Linked DNA regions of Homo sapiens: all the other regions are linked to region 1. Evidence: promoter capture Hi-C in 16 types of primary human blood cells and fetal thymus (Javierre and others, 2016). All regions are on one chromosome and are shown on one strand. Each heading gives the region's core, a stretch centred on a gene start or on the middle of the fragment in contact. The rest is flanking DNA. Distances are from core to core; before and after follow the strand shown. Region 1 holds the start of LNCRNA-IUR (lncRNA imatinib upregulated). Region 2 has its middle 42 kb from the start of JRKL. Region 3 overlaps CCDC82 (coiled-coil domain containing 82).

Region 1 (4,557 bases), core at 1,367-3,866:
TTGAGAAGAGGAAACAGACTGCAGGTACATGCTGGGGGAACCGGGGCTCAGGGCTTCGCCCTGCTATGTCTCTACTCACTCTCTGATGATCTCTCCAAGGGACTGATGGGGCTTTCAGTCCCATGCCTGTATCATGGCAACCCATATTTCTATCTCCAGCCCAGCCCTCTCCAGACCTGTGTGTCTGCCCAATCAATCTCTCCACTTGTTTTTCTAATGAACACCTCAAACCTAAAATATATAACATTAAGCTGTCTTATCCCTCTACCCCAGCATCTTCCAATCTCAGCCAGCAGCATCTCCGTTTTTCCAGCTGCTTGGAGTCATCCCTGATTCCTGTCTTTTTCTCATACCCAAAAAAACAATCAGACAGAAAATCTTATATATATGTAAATCTTCGCCCCGGTTGGAGTGCAATGGCGCAATCTCGGCTCACTGAAACCTCTGCCTCCTGGGTTCACGCTATTCTCTTGCCTCAGCCTCCCGAGTAGGTGGGATTAAGGGTGCACACCATCACACCCAGCTAATGTTTTGTATTTTTATTGATTGATTGATTGACTGAGACAGAGTCTCGCTCTGTCGCCCAGGCTGGAGTGCCGTGGCGCCATCTCGGCTCACTGCAAGCTCTGCCTCCCAGGTTCACACCATTCTCCTGCCACAGCCTCCCGAGTAGCTGGGACTACGGGCACCTGCCACCACTCCCTGCTAATTTTTTTTTTTTTTTTTTTTTAGTAGAGACGGGGTTTCACCGTGTTAGCCAGGATGGTCTCGATCTCCTGACCTCTTGATCCGCTCACCTTGGCCTCCCAAAGTGCTGGGATTACAGGCGTGAGCCACCGCGCCCGGCCTTTTATCCTACTTTCAAAAAACATACCCAGAGTCTGAGTGTTTCTCCTTACCTCCAGCGCCACTCCATGGCCCGAGCTCTGTTTCACCTGGTTCTCACCTGGATCGCGGCCTCCAATTTGCGCAGTGACCCCTACAGTCTATTCTCCAAACAGCAGCTGGCGTGGTCATTATGAAAAGCAATGTCCACCTGCTGCTCAAAAACCCACGAATGGCTCCCCATTTCTTTCCCATTAAAGCCAAAGTCTAAAACATTTACAAAGCGTTATATGATCAGTTCCTACCTGCTTTCCTTATGTTGGAGGCTGTGAAGCTCCTTAATATATAAACAGTTCTCAGGAGAAGGAATAAAAGCACAGCCACCTCCTCAGCAGAGCCAGTTTACACTCTGCTAGAGACAAGAGGAGCTGGGACCTTCTCCCCTAACCCTTACTGCATATGTGAGAGAAGCCAGACCTGCTGGATCGACTGGAAATGCCCAGTGCCTGAGACGGGGAGGAAAGAGAAGCCGTGGGGAGGAAAAGACTGTAAACCTAAAAGGCATTGAAGTCCCACCTCACCAGTTAGGCAGGGAGGAGAAAGAGGCCTAGGGCGCTCGGGAACTTGGAATAAGGTTGCCCTCTGCGGGTGAAACTGTGAAATATCTCACAGTGGAGGAGGGCGGAGACTGTTCGCAGAGGGGCCCGGCGAAAACGTCACCCTACTGGAGGTACGAACGCATCGCAGACTGGGGGCGCCCGAGCGCATCCCAGACGCGAGGGCAAAGGCCCAGGAGGACTGTGGGGCTCTCGGAAGTATCCGATCACCTTGCGAGGAGTCCGCCGGCTGTCCGAGCCTGATGTCACTGCAACTTCGATTCCTCCGACGCCCCTACTCTTACTTCCCAGTCTTCAGGCAACTTCTCCGCTTCGGCCTCCCCTAGGCCTTGGCCCCAGAGAGGGGACGCACTCCACAGGTGGATTCGCACGTGTGGGCCCTCGGCAGCACTTTCTCGTGCAAATTAACAGGTGGCCCTCATTGTGGAAGCACCGCCCAGCCTTTCCCGGGGAGGTCACCAGGGCGAGGCCGCTCAAGGTCTGCAGGCGCCCGGCGTTAGCGGGATCCTCCCCGCGCACTGGTCCGAGGAGGCCAGGAGAGGGCGAACCAGTCCCCGACCAGCGGCCCTTCCGGGGGTGGGCTCTGACCCCACCGAGCGGTTAGAGGGTCCAGGAGCTCCAAAGGGTAGGGCAGAATTGGGTAGATGAGGGTGCATTTTTCTGGGAGGAGTCTAAGGCGTCGCTGACTCTCAAAGGCCCGCATCCGGAGAAAGGGAAAGAGCCCCGTCCCGGGAGGAAGGACGAGAGGCTGGCCCGCGGGAAGGAGCCCTGGCAGTCCCTCCTGGCCTAGGTCTACCTCTTTGATCTCACCGTCCCCGTGGCGGCGAGTGCCACCAAAGATGAGAGAGGCCAGCAGGTATCGGGAGAGAGCTGAGGGGTCGGCGCCGGCGGGACCCCAGATTGGAGCCGCCGTCGTCGGACGGGCAGACCCTGCTGTAATAGCTCCCGGCCGGCCACGGTAGGCAGGTGGGGCCCACCGCGAGTCCTAGTGAAAAACACCTTCCTCTTGATTCTCTCAAAGGAACCCGAGCCCTGGGAAGGGACATCAAGGCGCTCCCGAGACTCCGGAGACGGCCAACAGCCCCAAAAGAGAGTACTCGGCTATCCAGCCGCCCTTATCCAAGCGGAGAATCTCTCTCCACCTCCGCCCTCCCGGGACTCAAAGTTGTTTGTGGAGCCTCCAGGTTTCCTTGTAGATGGGCACGATATGCACTGTGTGCGCGCGCGCGCACACACACACACACACACACACACACACACACACACACGTATATGTATTTTTCCAGTGGCCACTGCAGGATTGCCAGCTTTCGGAAATGAGCATCCGCTCTCTCTCTCGGGACTGGGCGTGGGGTTCACCGAAAGGAGAGGAAGAGACCTTGCGTTTGCGCTGGGCCTGCTCGATGCCAGGCCATTCTAGGCTTCTGTCTATCCTGGTTTCTGGTCTGTGCGTTGTGGGTAGCAGCATTGGCGTATTACGCCGGAGGGAGCAGGCTGAGCGAGGCTCCAGAAGGTGCGCAATAGCCGGAGAGGAAAGGGCGATGCTGTCACCTAGCCCCCTCCCTGAGACTCCATTCAGCCCAGAAAAAGGAGCTGCTTTCTCCCCCATCTACCCTAGGAGAAAATAAACGGTCGCTGGCATTTTCCTGCGTCTTTTAATTTTGCCAGAACTGTTTTGGGTTGGCTATTGTGGGCCAGGATGGAGGCCTTCTCCTCCCGGGAGCAAACCTGCCCACGCCCAGGCCGGCAGTGGAGTCAGCCTTGCCCCAGCCTGCCCTCCAGGGAAACAATGCCCCTTTGTCCCTCGCCCTCCCGGGGCTGATACAGCCCCTCCCCTTAGCTTAGGGCTCCCTCCCGTTAGAGCATTCCAATGATTGCCACAAGTCACACTTTTCTTTGAGGTCTCTGCCTGGGAAGAAAACAAAGCAGCCCTCCTAATCACACGGAGGGAGTGGAACTTTTCCTGCCCTCTGACTATGTGCCAGCCTTGGCTCCTCCCTGAAGCCCTGTCTAGAGGGCTTATTAGGTCACTTATGTTTTGTACCTCGTGTGAAGTCCCACAATCAGTAGATTATAGAGGGGAGCACAAACCCAGCAGTGTCTGACATAGAGAAATTACACATACATACATACACACATACATACATACATACACACACACACATACACACATACATATACATACATACATACATACATACACACACATACATACACACATACATACACACATACACATACATACATACATACATATATACATACATATATATAGTCTTTCCACCACCCAGGATTGAAAATTAATGCTGTTTTTGACATTGTCCGTTATCCACCCAAACCCTCCAAAAAGGCTGGCTGGCATTTGCTTGGCTCTAGTTCTACCTGCCCACCTTCTCCTTTGCCTAATCCTGAGTTTTCCCCTTCCCCACGTGTGTTCCCCTTGAGCACTTTTTTGCTAACTTCCTGCATGCTACTGTCATCTCAGAGACTGATTCCTGGGGAGCCCAACCTGTAACATGGAGCTCAGTGGAAAGCACATGGAATGTGGACTGAGACATGACTGTGTTCAAACCCTGGCTCTGTCGCTAAGTGGTTACTTGGTTTGGGGCAAGGCATTTAATCCCTCTAAAGTTCACTTTCATCTGGGGGGAAAAGATAACTGTGAGGATTAAGTGAGTTTATATATAGTGTATGAGTGCCTGGACCACTGAAGCAGTGCAGCAGATGTTAGCTCCTCCTTCAGTAATATTTATTGAACATGGCATCCCAAGTGTTACTAGAATTTATATTTCTACTTTATAAATTTTACTAGAATTTATGTTTTCATATTCTTGATACTAATACTGCATTTTTGAAAGGGGTGACTCCTTCCTTATTAAAGTTTTAGAACACTATCCTAAGTGAAGTACAATGGTTACTAAATTAGATGACATCTGGATCTGGCTGATCTTGAACAAGCAGGTTAATCATATAACTTAGCTAGGTCATTGTGAAATTTTCTCCTGTGTAGAAAGAGATATTAATAGTAACTACTGTGGCAGATGGCATTTTCCATAAATGCCTACAAAATACTTTCCATCTCAGCTGCTCTTCAGAAATGACCTTGCCATTCCTC
Region 2 (4,557 bases), core at 1,204-3,703, 1.3 Mb before region 1:
CATTTTTAAAATTAAAAACTACAAACATAGGGAAGAAATCTCTCTCCAAAGGAAACAGCTATGCAGAGAAGCAACTCTGCCTGCAATATAAAGACAAATTTTTGCATTATCCCAAAGAGTTATTTAAACCTTAACCGAGTTTATTTGCCATTTTTCAAACTTTTTTCTCATTACGTTTTGTTCTACATTTGCATACACAAGTGACTTTCTGATAAGAAAGAACATTCCACAGCAAATATGCATCCATATCAGAGCCTCTTGCAGGAGACAGATGATTTGCAGCTTTGACATGACAGTTCTTTATTATTCCCTACAATATTTTAAAGATCACAGAACCCATTTTCCACTTCTGCTGAAGCTCCAGGTATGATATATTCTTCTTTCCCAAAGCAGCCTCTGCTAAAGGAAGCTTTTCCCAAGCACAGAGCCTAGGAGGGAGAGCTCAGCACTGATAAGAGCTGAGGTTGATTTCTGCCTGCCTGTCCACAACTTGCCCCAGAAACCAAAGCTTTTTCTCTCAGTAACTGGTAATTGATTCTGACAAGGATTCTCAGTCTTCAACTGGGTTTAGCTCAGAACACTTGTTACAAATATACCAGGACACTTAACCCTGAATTTTCAATTTTATAAGAATTTCTTACAAGAAAAATTAACAAATATATAATTTTGTGGGGTTTTATTATACAATTTATAAATGCAAACTATAGAAAACTACAAAATATATCTATGAAAAAAAAGCATTACTATTAGGCCCACCACCCAAATATTACTACAGATCGTTTGTAAATCCTTCTTCCTACCATTTTAGGGGATGTATGTATTTATTAAACAGAGAAGTAGAACAAGAATTACAAACACTTTGTGACCTCTTTTCTCATGTCAAAAATTGATTTTTTTTCTATGCTAGTAAACATTCTTCTGCAATATCGCTTAATGATTACATGGTATGTCAAAATTAATTTATATAACCAGTGACATATTATTAGCAGTACTGTGATCACTACTGGGTGACAAGATCAATTGTACCCCAAACTTCAGCATTATACAACATATCCATGTAGCAAACCTGCACGTGTACCCCTTGAATCTTAAAGTAGAAGTTGAAATTTTTTTTTAAATGCAATTAGGTTGTTTGCTGGTTTTGTTATTACAATCAATGTCTTTGTTACACAATCTTGGCACATAACCATGATTCTTTCCTTAGGATAAATTCCTAAACACAAAAATACTAGATTGAAAGTTATGTAAATTTTGTTTTATTTTTAATTGTATTCGTTTTTAATGTTTAAGTTCAGGGGTAACTGTGAAGGTTTATTATATAGGTAAACTGTGTCATGGGGGTATGCTGTATTGATCATTTCATCACCCAGGTGTTAAGCCTAGAACCCACTGGTTATTTTTCCTGATTCTCTGCCTCCTCCCACCCTCCACCTTGCAGTAAGCCCCAATGTCTGTTGTTCCCCTCTGTGTCCATGTGTTCTCATCATTTTGCTACCACTTATAAGTGAGAATCTGCAGTATTTGTTTTTCTGTTCCTGCATCAGTTTGCTAAGGATAATGGCCTCCAGCTCTATTCATGTTCCTGAAAAGGATGTGATCTTATTCTTTTTTATAGCTGCATAGTATTCCATGGTGTATATGTACCACATTTTCTTTATCCATTCTATCACTGATGGGCATTTAGGTTGATTCCATGTCTTTGCTATTGTGAGTATTGCTGCAATGAATATATGCATGTAAGTGTCTTTATGATACAATGATTTATATTTCTTTGGGTATGTACCTAGTCATGGAATTGCTGGGTCAAATGATATTTCTGTTTTTGGGTCTTTGAGGAATCGTCTCAATGTCTTCCACAATGGCTGAACTAATTTACACTCCCGCCAACAGTGTATAGGCATTCCTTTTTCTCTACAACCTCACCAGCATCTGTTATTTTTTGACTTTTTAATAATTGCCATTTGACTGGTGTGAGATGGTATCTCATTGTGGTTTTGATTTGCATCTCTCTAATGACCAGTGATAGCTTTTTTTCATGTTTGTTGGTGGCATGAATGTCTTCTTTTGAGAAGTGTCTGTTCATGTCCTTTGCCCATTTTTTAATGAGGTTGTTTGTTTTTTCTCTTGTAAATTTAAGTTCCTTGTAGATGCTGGACATTAGACATTCATCAGATGCATAGTTTGCAAAAATTTTCTCCCATTCTGTAGTTTGACTGTTTACTCTGTTGACAGTTGTTTTTAGTTTTGAGTTTGTTTGTTTTTTGTTTTTGCTGTGCAGAAGCTCTATAGCTTAATTATATCACATTTGTCAATTTTTGTTTTGGTCGCAATTGCTTTGGCATCTTCTTCATGAAATCTTTGCCTGTTCCTATGTCCAGAATTGTATTGCCTAGGTCGTCTTCCAGGGTTTTTATAATTTTGGGTTTTACATTTAAGTCTTTAATCCATCTTGGGTTGATTTTGTGTACGATATAAGGAAGGGGTCCAGTTTCAATCTCTGCATATGGCTAGCAAGTTATCCCAGCACCATTTATTGAATAGGGAGTCCTGTCCCCATTGCTTATCTTTGTCAGATTTGTCAAAGATCAGATAGTTGTAGGTGTGCTGCCTTATTTCTGGGTTTTCTATTCTGTTCCTTTAATCTGTGTGTCTGTTTTTGTAACAGCACCATGCTGTTTTGGTTACCATAGCCTTGTAGTGTAGTTAGAAGTAGGTAGCATGATGCCTCTAGCTTTGTTCTTTTTGTTTAGGATTACCTTAGCTATTCAGGCTCTTTTTTATTTCCACATGAATTTTAAAACACATTTTTCTAGGTCTGTGAAGAATGTCATTGGTAGTTTAATAGGAATAGCATTGAATCTATAAATTGCTTTGGAGAGTATTGTCATTTTGAAGATATTGATTCTTCCTATCCATGAGCATGGAATGCTTTTCCATTTGTTTGTGGCATCTCTGATTTCTTTGAGCAGTGTTTTGTAGTTCTCATTGTAGAGATCTTTCACCTCCCTGAATAGCTGTATGCATAGGTATTTTATTCTTTTTGTGGCAATTGTGAATGGGATTGCATTCTTGATTTGGCTCTCAGCTTGACTGTTGTTGGTGTATAGGAATGCTAGAGATTTTTGTACACTGATTTTGTATCCTGATACTTGGCTGAAGTTCTTTATCAGCTGAAGGAGCCTTTGAGTCAAGACTATGGGGTTTTCTAGATATGATTATGTTGTCTGCAAACAGAGATAGTTTGACTTCCTCTCTTCCTATTTGGATGCCCTTTATTTCTTTCTCTTGCTTAATTACTCTGGCAAGGACTTCCAATGCTGTGTTGGGCAGGAGTGGTGAGAGAGAGCATCCTTCTCTTGTGCTGGTTTTCGAGGGGAATATTTCCAGCTTTTGCCCATTCAGTATGATATTAGTTGTGAGTTTGTCATACGTGGCTCTTATTATTTTGAGTCACATTCCTTTAATACCTAGTTTATTGAGAGTTTTTAACATGAAGAAATGTTGAATTTTACCAAAAACATTTTCTGCATCTATTGAGATATAATCATGTGGCTTTTTTCTTTAGATCCACTTACATGACGAATCATATTTATTGATTTGCATATGTTGAACCAACCTTGCATCCTGGGGATGAAGCATATTTGATAGTGGTGGATAAGTTTTTTGATGTGCTGCTGAATTCGGTTTGCCAGTATTTTGTTGAGGATTTTTGTATCAATATTCATAAAGAATATTGCCCTGAAGTTTTCTTTTTCTGTTGTGTCTCTGCCAGGTTTTGGTATCAGGATGATATGGGCCTCATAGAATGAGTTAGGGAGGAGTCTCTCCTCCTCGATTTTTTGGAACAGTTTCAGCAGGAACAATACCAGGTCTTTTTTTGTATATCTAGTAGAATTCAGGCTGTGAATCTGTTTGGTCCTGGGCTTCTTTTTTTTTTTTTTTTTTTTTTGGTTGGAAGGCTATTTTAGGCTGATTCAGTTTTGGATCCCATTATATGTCTGTTCAGGGATTCAATGTCTTCCTGGTCAGTCTTGGGAGGTGTATGTGTTCAGGAATTTAACCATTTCTTCTAGACTTTCTAGTTTATGTGCATAGAGGAGTTCATAATATTCTCTGATGGTTATTTGTATTTCTTTGGGGTCAGTGGTAATATCCCTTTGTTGTGTCTAATTGTGTTTATTTGAATCTTCTCTTTTTCTCTTTATTAGTCTAGCTAGCGGTCTATTTTATTAATTTTTTCAAAAATCCAGCTCCTGGATTCACTCATCTTTTGAATGGTTTTTTTGTGTCTCAATCTCTTCCAGTTCAGCTGTGATTTAGGTTATTTCTTATCTTCTACTAGCTGTAAATTTCTAATTTAAAAAATGCATATGCTAAAACGCTTTCAAGCAAGCTTCATCCAATTTACCCTCCTCTCATTTAAGCACTTTTGCCAATATAGGGTATTATTTGATTTTTAATATTTTATAATTTGATACATAAAAATATGGAATCTCACTCTGTCTCACATCATTCATGTGTAATGTCCTATCTGTGATTACTTGAAAAGTTGAATTT
Region 3 (4,557 bases), core at 969-3,468, 1.2 Mb before region 1:
CAGAGAAGATTTTTTAAATTCCTGTAAATGTGAAGATCATGATTCTTGTTTTTCTGTATCATGTGACATGTTTGTACATTTTATCTATATCTTCATGGCAAAATATTTTGTTTAAAACATGATTATCTTAATTCCTGTGAAGTGGCACTCTACACTCTAATTAAACTTTTATCTGATGTACATAAAAGCATTATCTTAATTTTTAAGTCTGTAAATATATTTTAAAGTTATATAATAATGGCTTTATAACAGATGACTGTCAAGTGAATGAGCTGTTGATATCCTGTCAGTTTAGTCAAAATATATTGTATCTTAAAAATGTATTTAGACTAACGTCTACATGTATTTTTACGGAATTCCTGTCCAGATCTGTTTATTCTTTTACAGTATTAAATGATTTTCACTAATATATTTTTTACTGCTATCATCTAAATCAGTGGGCCATGGAAGAAACCTCATATATCATTCAGTTCAATCCCATTGCTTCAGAATCAGATCATAGCATATCTATTCTAAGTAGAGGAATGCTTTTTTCCTTTTCTTGAAAGTTTCTCTTTCAAATAGATTTCAGGCCTCTAGAGTCTTTCAACCCTCACATTCAGGAATAATTTTATGTAAATTTTCATGCTTTATAATGTTCTTACTTTTTTCTATTCAATTTTGTCTATATATTGATGATTAAGATGTATTTTATTTATTTTTATCCATAGCTTTTTCCATATAAGTATGTATCTTAGGGTCAGAACTGCTGAAAGAGACAAACTCAGCCAAAAACACTTGGAAAGCATATTTTGGTATCTGCATTGCTTTGCATATCTAAATTTTCCCATAAAGTAATAAAGTAAAATGGTTGCAGAGTGAACAAATGAACCCTGTGTGTTCTATATTTTTAATTCTTAAAAGTGGTATTCTAGTAGGATCTATCCTTTAGATAATTTTTTCTTAATGGAAGTCTTGGTTGAACTTGGATTCATCTATTATGCGACTCATGGCATGGACCGTAGTGTACGTATCCATAAAAAGCTACATTAAGCTCATATATGGAAATGAGTTAATATTTTCTACAATTCATTTCCTGAAATTATCCGTATTATTATTGTAAACAAATGGGGTGGAAAAAACTCACAATTGTGGTAACAGTACTGATGCTGATGTTTAATGTTTAATGAGGAGTGCATACCTTTTTCAAACATTGTGAAATGGAAATTTCACATATCTGTATTTTTTTTTAATTTGAGATGGAGTCTTGCTCTTGTCACCCAGGCTGGCGTGCAATGGCATGATCTCTACTCACTGCAACCTCCGCCTCCCGGGTTCAAGCGACTCACCCACCTCAACCTCCTGAGTGGCTGGGATTACAGGCATGCGCCACCACACCTGGCTAATTTTGCATTTTTTAGTAGAGATGGGGTTTCACCATGTTGGCCACGCTGGTCTTGAACTCCTGACTTCAGGTGATCCACCCACCTTGGCTTCTCAAAGTCCTGTGATTACAAGCATGAGCCACTGTGTCTGCCCTACATATCTGTATACTTATTCATATTTCCCTGGCATATTGCAAAATAATTCTTAACTAAATTCCAAGGAATAAAAATAAAGTCGTAATTGAAAGGTGAAGATGAAGGGACAGTGTCCACAAAAAAAGCAAGGCAGAGTTAGAAGTGACAGTCAAGGAGGAAGGGTAAAGGATCACAAATGATTTATAAAAAGGAAGGCCAGAAGAAATGAAAAAAAAAAAAGGATCTCTAAAGTATCTCCAATTACCTAGAAGCATCAGTTCTCATATGGGACATTACAGACAAGCTTGAGATGGCTGAAGAGTAATCTTAAAATATATCTCTTACTTTTAACAGCATGCAGTTAATTTGTAAATTAAGGCACTAATAATTCCAAGGACTTATCTGGATCAACCATCTTGTTGGCTTGAAGCACTTTTCCTATTGGAACAGCTGCCTGTTGATCATAAAATGCTTATAGGTAGTTTGATGTCTAAGGTCATTGCAACCAAGCATGCTACTTTGTAGGAATTTGGAGAATACAAGAGGCTCTAAGGTCGTGGTAACATTAAAAGAATGGCAAAAAGGCTGTTAGGAAGTGAGAATTAACATGTATTAGGGGGCAAAAAGCAAGTAGTTCATAAGAAAATGGAAATGTTGAGAAATAGAATTAACCTTTACAGGTATTAGGACATATTATTTTATCATTATCATCATCATCATCAATATCATTGATTCAATAACAACACAAAAACAGGTTTTTTTTGTTTTTGTTTTTGTTTTTTTGAGATGGAGTCTCGCTCTGTTGCCAGGCTGTAGTGCAGTGGGGCGATCTCACTCACTGCAACCTCCACCTCCCAAGGTCAACCGATTCCCCTGCTTCAGCGTCCCAAGTAGCTGGGACTACAGGTGTGCACCACCATGCCCAGCTAATTACAAAAATAGTTTTTAAGCTCATTTATTTCACATATCATTTCACATGACTGTAAATTTTTTAGATTTGGTCATTTATTACTACAGTGTTAGGTGCTTTAGTGTTAGGTAGCTATTGATAGCAGAGATGATGAGGAAGACAGAAATGGACAAGTAAAAGGAAAGTAATTCTAGAAAGAAATCACAGGGCTATACAGAAGCTTTAGGGTTATGAAGAGAGGGAACAAAACCATAAGACAGGAAAAAACAAGGGAAAATAAATGTTTATTGTACAGGCAGTTGGATGCAATTGGCCACATTTCCTGACTTGTCTGCTCATATTCAGATGAGTAGATCTATATAGTACTCATTCCCAGGAGGTATTATAGGACTTACTTAGATTCCAGAGTGTTCACTGAGGGATAGACTGCAGCCTTTGAGCAGCTTTGAGCTACTTTGGAGATAGTTTGGCTCCCCCATAACTCCTTTCATACTTGCTATTGAGGCAGCCAGACTAGTGATTAAGGTGGAAGTCAGTCTTTTTTCTTCAACTTTTATTTTAACTTCCGGGATACATGTGTAGGATGTGTAGGCTTGTTACATAGGTAAATGTGTGCCATGGTGGTTTGCTGCACAGATCATCCCATCACCTAGGTTTTAAGCCCAGCATCCATTAGCTATTCTTCCTGATGCTCCCCATCCCCCAACCCAACCACCAACAGGCTCCAGTGTGTGTTGTTCCCCACCATGTGTCCATATGTTCTCATCATTCAGCTCCCACTTACAAGTGAGACGGTGCGATGTTTGGTTTTCTATTCCTGCATTAGTCTGCTGAGGAAAATGGCTTCCAACTCCGTCCATGTCCCTGCAAAGGCCATGATCTCATTTCTTTTTATGACTGCATAGTATTCCCTGGTGTTTATGTACCACATTTTCTTTATCCACTCTATCATTGATGGGCATTTAGGTCGATTCTGTGTTTTTGCTATTGTGAATAGTGCTGCAGTGAACATACATGTGCACATATCTTTATAATAGAATGATTTATATTCCTTTGGGTATATACGCAGTTATGGGATTGCTGGGTCAAATGGTATTTCTGCCTCTAGGTCTTTGAGGAATCACCACACTGTCTTCCACAATGATTGAACTAATTTACACCAACAGTGTAAAAGCATGCCTTTTTTCTCCACCACCTTGCCAGCATCTGTTGTTTTTGTTTTGTGTTTTTGTTTGTTTTTTTACTTTTACCTAATAGCCCTTCTGACTGGCATGAGATGGTATCTCATTGTGGTCTGGATTTGCATTTCTCTAATGATCAGTGATGTTGAGCTTTTTTCGTATGTTTGTTGGCTGCATAAATGTCTACTTTTGAGGGCTGTCTGTTCATGTCCTTTGCCCACTTTTTAATGGGGTTTGTTTTATTCTTTTAAATTTGTTTAAGTTCCTTGTAGACTCTGGCTATTAGACCTTTGTCAGATGGATAGATTGCAAAAATTTTTTCTCATTGTGTAGGTTGTCTGCTTACTCTGATGACAGTTTCTTTTGCTATGCAGAAGCTTTTTAGTTAATCAGATCCCATTTGTCAAGTTTTGCTTTTTTGCAATTGCTTTTGGTGTTTTCATCATGAAATCTTTGCCCGTGCCTATGTCCTGAATGGTATTGCCTAGATTTTCTTCTAGGGTTTTTATAGTTTGGGATTTTACATTTAAGTCTTTAATCCATCTAGAGTTCACCACTTCTGTTCAATATAGTGTTGGAAGTTCTGGCCAGGGCAATCAGGCAAGAGAAGGAAATAAAGAGTATTCAAATAGGAAGAAAGGAAGTCAAATTATCTTTGTTTGCAGATGACATGATTCTATGTCTAGAAAACCCCATTGTCTCAGCCCAAAAGCTTCTTAAGCTGATAAGCAACTTAAGCAAAGTCTCAGAATACAAAATCAACGTGCAAAGATTGCTAGCATTCCTATATACCAACAACAGGCAAGCAGAGAGCCAAATCATGAATGAACTCCCATTCACAATTGCTACAAAAAGAATAAAATACCTAGGAATACAGCTAACAAAGGAAGTGAAGGACCTCTTCAAGGAGGACTACAAACTACTGCTCAAAGAAATCAGAGAGGACACAAATGGAATCCATGCTCAT

The links. Contacts are between HindIII fragments. The CHiCAGO score rates a contact against its expected background, and 5 or more counts as called.
Region 2: a fragment that was not itself captured here is called in contact with the fragment with the promoter of LNCRNA-IUR in region 1 in 11 of 17 cell types (M2 macrophages, endothelial precursors, M0 macrophages and 8 more); the score reaches 14.7 in M2 macrophages.
Region 3: a contact is called between a fragment that was not itself captured here and the fragment with the promoter of LNCRNA-IUR in region 1, in 1 of 17 cell types (erythroblasts). The highest score is 5.2, in erythroblasts.

Annotation. Positions count from the first base shown.
Region 1 is chr11:95,148,598-95,153,154 of GRCh38, reverse strand. LNCRNA-IUR (lncRNA imatinib upregulated) reads right to left here and starts at 2,616. Exons shown (of 3, transcript NR_110303.1): 1 at 1,407-2,616. RefSeq lists a silencer at 1,387-1,496 and enhancers at 2,017-2,146, 1,747-2,288, 2,289-2,830. The HindIII fragment of the contact is 7,632 bases long and covers 1-4,557 here.
Region 2 is chr11:96,429,926-96,434,482 of GRCh38, reverse strand. No RefSeq gene overlaps it. Among named protein-coding and RNA genes, the nearest start is that of JRKL, 42 kb to the right of the region's middle. The HindIII fragment of the contact is 3,885 bases long and covers 511-4,395 here.
Region 3 is chr11:96,349,078-96,353,634 of GRCh38, reverse strand. It overlaps CCDC82 (coiled-coil domain containing 82), which reads left to right. Exons shown (of 10, transcript NM_024725.4): 10 at 1-862. Among named protein-coding and RNA genes, the nearest start is that of MAML2, 8.2 kb to the right of the region's middle. The HindIII fragment of the contact is 826 bases long and covers 1,806-2,631 here.